2 separate regions of the Homo sapiens genome follow, and region 1 is linked to region 2. Evidence: promoter capture Hi-C in 16 types of primary human blood cells and fetal thymus (Javierre and others, 2016). All regions are on one chromosome and are shown on one strand. Each heading gives the region's core, a stretch centred on a gene start or on the middle of the fragment in contact. The rest is flanking DNA. Distances are from core to core; before and after follow the strand shown.

Region 1 (2,700 bases), core at 150-2,649, 410 kb after region 2:
ATCTCCCCCACGTGGTAGCCTTGATCCTGATAGAACTCACCTCATGAGCCTGAGGCAAAAATAGTCTCCAGCTTCCAGCAGACAGTTACAATTTGGAGTTATCCATCAAAATAGTCTACTTAAAACTGTAGAGAGCTATAGCTTAGAAGGAGACATAAATGTATAAATAGATAAATTGATATAAAATGTTGTGAGTGCTTTGATATAGGCACAAATAACTTGTTAAGAAACAACTAACTGCCTGGGAAAGTCTTGGAAAGATACCCTGAGGAGACATTGGAATCTGTCTTGAAGAATAAGTAGAAGTGAGTGTGTGTATGGGTGGGGGTGAGGGGGACTGGGAGTGAGTAAGAATATTTCCACAGAAAGAATAGCCGGTACAAAGATATGAAATCTGGAAAAGGCTGCGTTAAGCCAGGGCAAGAAGTTGAGAATGGCTGGATGGAAGGGCTTATGAAGTGGATTCTCTTTTCAGAAAGAGATGGCTTGAGCCTGGCTATTTGGGGGTTTGCTTGTTCAACCAAGAAGTTTAGATTTTATCTTACAGAAAAAGAGAAGACATCAAGAGGTTTGAAGCATGGGAGTGACTTGATTTGATTTCCAGTTTAGAAAGATAACACTAGTGGCAGTTTTGAATACTTATTTGATGGAGAAGGGAGTGAATCAGGGATACAGGCTGGGTGTAAAGCACTCTGCCCTCCCAGCAGCCCAGGTGGCCTGTTTTTGGTTCAGAAAATAAAGTTACTGTTTATAGAGACAGACTTAACTGGTTGTGATAGATCATTGCAAAATGTTATGCCTGATGTATGAATATTTGCAAAGTAAAATGGAAAATTGTGGCAATTGCTTGGATTATGCAGGGAAACAAAAATTGACTTGAAATACTAACATAAGGAATTTTAAGATGGAAAAAGCATAGATCAACGAGCAAAAGCTTTCTTTTTTTTTCCCCCATGAAATGATCAACTGTAATTTGGCTGGACGTAGTCTTAAGCATATACTCTTATAATCTCATGATTTCAATAGTATGTTTTTCTGTGACATCCTTATGGATCACAAAGTCACAATGGCATAGTATAAAATGGAATCACATTAAAAAATTATATTCTAGGCTGGACGTGGTGGCTCACACCTGTAATCCCAGCAATTTGGGAGGTCGAGGTGGGTGGATCACTTGAGGTCAGGAGTTTAAGACCAGTCTGGCCAACATAGTGAAACCCCATCTCTACTAAAAATACAAAAACATTAGCTGGGTGTGGTGGCATCCGCCTGTAATCTCGGCTACTCAGGAGGCTGAGGCAGGAGAATTGCTTGAACCCTAGAGGTGGAGGTTGCAGTGAGCAGAGATCCCACTGCTGCATTCCAGCCTGGGTGACAGAGCAAGACCCTGTCTGAAAAAAAACCAAAAAGTATTCTTAAAAAAGAAGGCAAAATAAGATTAGTAGAGGAACCAGTGCACATTTGCATATACTTAAAAACTTGTGTACTTTTTAGCTGGCTTGTCGGGATTACAACTCTCAAGCTAGCATAGCTGATGAGCTTTTGATCCCTTTCCTCCTATGGGGTGGGGGATGGTTAGTAAAACAATATGAATAAAAGGAAATGCAGTGGTGCTCAGAAGGAGAAGAGTTTGAGCCGTCTAATTGTTCCCCACATTCCATTTTGCCTTATAGACTTTGCATCGTCTGCCCTTTTTGGCTTGCTGGCTATTCAGTTCCCATTTTCTGCATGTCACAAACAAATGCTCCCAGGATAAAGTCAGAAACAGAACTTGAGTCTATTTCAAAAAAAGATGAGGGAGGAATATGCCTGGATTAAAGCCATGAAACAAATCCCCAAATATCCTTGCTAATTTAACATGAAAATAAGCTTTTAATAGTTTATCTTTATTCATGTTACATGTTTATTTAGTAGCATCTCAGTATTGAGAAAAGTAGATTTTGCAGCCAACTGACAGAAGAGTTTGGTCTGGATACTGGTTGTCCTCCCTGCAGGGATGGTTGGCTCTTGCGCTTGGAATGTCCCGGGGCTTCCCAGTATAGAAATGTGTGCTGGTCAGAACTGATCTCTGGCATGATTGTCAATGGCATCCATGAATTGGCCCACACCAGCACATTTTCCTGCGACTTCTCAGCTTCTGGTCTGTAGCTGCTTTCCGTCATTTTGTATTTGCTGCATACTCCATCAACCTAATAAAGCAGCTGTTTATTATGCGTGACCTGCTCTATAGTGTGACTGATGGATAACTGCAGCATTTAAAGTCTTGTGTTAGATTCTCAGCCTGCTGCCAGCTCTCCATTATATTCCATAAAAATGTTTCTTGTTATGGACTATCAGAAGCAAAAGTAAGTTATTTTAGGGTCAGAGCCAATTTGAACCCTCTAAAGTACTGCCAGATTAGAAGGTGGGAGAAAATAAGAAGCAGTCTGGAAGAAGCTGCAATTAAGGGCATCAAACATATGCACAAAGCATACCTTTTTCATAGTCCTGCATATACAGACACAGAGTATTTTATGTGGAGCATGTGATCCAATATGAGCTGGTATAGTCATATCTGTGAGGTTGGAAGGCTGGTTAAAAGAAAGGCAAGGACAGACAACTCTATTTATTATTTATTATTCACTCTGGTCCAGTGCTTTGCTGTGTTCTACTGCACATTATATGTCATTGATTTTCTAATAATCCCAAGGAGTTTTTTTT
Region 2 (2,700 bases), core at 192-2,691:
AGGCTGCAGTGAGCCATGATCATACCATTGCACCCCAGCCTGGGCAACAGAGCAAGACTTATTTTCTCTCTCTCTCCACATATATGTATATATCAAAGTTGGTCTTTACACACAACTTTTATTTAAATGCATGGCCAATTCAAGTAGCAGTTCTTAATTCCTTCTATAAGATTTTAAAGTAATCTGAGGCCTAAAAATTTTAAGTCTATTTTTTGTTTGGAAGACATGACAATAAATCTGCTCCCTCCTCCCATAACATATGTATTAATCCTTTGATTTACATTCTACTTAGAGTTTGACAATGAACCTGAAGTTGACCCTTCCCCCAAATTTACTGGGCCCTTATGAGGGCCAACTATAAATGTATAATATACTAACAAATACTTTGGTTACTTAGTGTATACTCATGTAAGTGTATACTCATACATTTTTATATATTAAGTCCAGGCTCACTCAATATATACAAGTGTATCAGTATAAGCCTTATTGGGAGATAGTCTATTTAAGATAAGATCTCTCTGGATAGGATACAAAAAGGCAATCGCCATTCCCTATGGACACACTTCAAAGGGGGAAGCTTTCAGCTTGGTTTTTGAATATATATAACCAACTCATTAAGGCTGTGTCAGCTCCTCATTAGCACTCAACTCAGAAAGGGTTTCTTGACTACCTCATGAAATAAGGGGTTTTGATAACTATCCCCCAGGAGTATAAAATAGCTTTCCTATTTACTGGAGAAAGCCACAAAATTAGACTTGTAAAATAGGACAAAGCACCCTTTCATTTTCCAAGTCACTTGGTTGGTGTAAAATTTCCATTCTTCTGCTCCTCAGATCATTAATGAACAAGGGATGCGTTTCAAAGGGTTTAAACAAGCAGACCTGAAAATTCTGTTCAGCTTAGTGTATGAAAATCAGATGTTAGATAGCTTTCTTCCCAGGAGGCTGGGGAACGCTCAGCACCTACCAAGGCTTCCTTCCCTACAGTTAGGACTGAGGTGTAGGCTTCCAGATACACTCGACTGCAGCGTCTAACAACTTCCAGGCCCTTGACTGTGATGTCCTTGGCATCTCCCAGGCCCAACCCGATGAGATAAAGCATTTCAAACTTGAGGAGAAGAGAGACTGCAAGACGAAGTGGACAGAAAAACCGTCAGTAACACCGAGGACATCTAAAATCTAGTGATGAACACGATGACAACCAAAGTAGCACAAGAGAAGAGGCAAGTCACAAGGAGGGGTTTGGGAACCTTATGTCACGCTTAAGAACTGGGATAAGAGGTTTTAAACAACCCTACCAGTTTTGCCTCTTGTTACACAAACCTAGGAGCAGCCAATTACCCGCTGAGAGAATCGTAGGTAGTTCTCTGGCCTTTACAAATTCTTAACTACCACCTTTCCGCAGAAGCAACTGCAAAAGCGCCGGCTCCGTGCAGAGAAAAGGCCCACGCCGCCGGCCTCACCTACGGTGCCGCAAAATGCTGGTGCCTTTACTGCACTTTACGACTAGCGGGAGGGGGCCGGGCTAGCGGGCTACTGGGCTGCGGAGACCAGAGCCCGGCTCCACTGAAGAAACCCGCCGGCTGCTGGGGCAGGGCGGCGAAAGGTCAGTCGGCCGAGAGGAGTCCGTGGAGCCACCGTTTCATAGCCTCAGGGAAAGGATCGGGCGTGCTCACGAGCCCTCTAACCCATGGCTTAAACACCCGCTTCCTAAGCCTGGGTAAGTGCAGTAGCTCTTCGCTCGAGAGGAGCCACGTGGAAGAGAGTCGGGAGGGGCCCTGCGCCCTACTCCTCCTCTCCAGAAACAGGGAGGGCTGGGAAGGATTTTCCTGATTTGTCCCCGGATTTGGCCGAGTGCACAGATTTTAATTCCAGTCTTCTCATCCTCCTGTAGTTCAACTAGGTGTCTTCCTGGTGAAGCGTGAGATTGGCAAACCCAGCAGTGAGTGTGCTTCTGATTTCCCAACAAGGCAATGACTCCTTGGGTTTGTCCCCAAGACCTTATGCCTGGAGTGCCCCAAGGATGTTTCAGTCACCCTCAGTGTCAGGAATCCCAGACCTTCCTGTACCTAAAGAAGTGACCTTTAATAGTGCTCAGGGATTTCAGACCTCTCAAGTGTTTCTGCCGGGGGAATTCTTATAAAGCTGTTGGTTACATGTAATTAGAAATAGGGAAGATTTGTTTTGACTGAAAATGCTCTTCCCAAGGTGACCTCATCCAAGTTAAAAAAGACAGCTGTCATTGCTTTTCTTAGCAGGCAGTGTTGGTTACTCAGAATTTTCCTGTTGCCTCCCCGACAATGCCCAACTCCGCTTCCTTGAACCTTGGCTTTTTTTCATTCCCAGGTTCCATCCACCTTTTTGCACTTCCTATCTATAAACTCTTCGTGGCTGTGTTTTATCCCCTCTCATTACGTTGATCTATTCCTCACACCACATACACACCCCAAAAAACTCAAAATGGATCGTAGATGTAAATGGAAAACCTAAACCTATACCAGAAGAAAACATAGGAGGAAATATTCGTGACCTTATTTAGGCAAATATTTCTTAAACCAAAAGCGTGATGAAAAAAATTGATAAATTGGACTTCAACAAAGTAAAAATTTATGCTCTTCAAAAGACTTGAAGCCACATACTGAAAATATTTACAAAGCATGTATCTGATGAAGGACTTGTATGGAGAATATATAAGGAGCAC

Evidence for each region. The method cuts DNA at HindIII sites, captures the fragments that hold promoters and counts their contacts. A CHiCAGO score of 5 or more calls a contact.
Region 1: a fragment that was not itself captured here is called in contact with the fragment with the promoter of DPH5 in region 2 in 2 of 17 cell types (total B cells and naive B cells); the score reaches 10.1 in total B cells.

What each region holds. Positions count from the first base shown.
Region 1 is chr1:101,438,577-101,441,276 of GRCh38, forward strand. No RefSeq gene overlaps it. Among named protein-coding and RNA genes, the nearest start is that of LINC01307, 120 kb to the left of the region's middle. The HindIII fragment of the contact is 935 bases long and covers 933-1,867 here.
Region 2 is chr1:101,024,343-101,027,042 of GRCh38, forward strand. It overlaps DPH5 (diphthamide biosynthesis 5), which reads right to left and starts at 1,442. Exons shown (of 8, transcript NM_015958.3): 1 at 1,341-1,442; 2 at 967-1,124. The coding sequence starts at 1,101. DPH5-DT (DPH5 divergent transcript) reads left to right here and starts at 1,504. Exons shown (of 5, transcript NR_109849.1): 1 at 1,504-1,719. RefSeq lists enhancers at 972-2,171, 1,264-1,373. The HindIII fragment of the contact is 3,765 bases long and covers 576-2,700 here.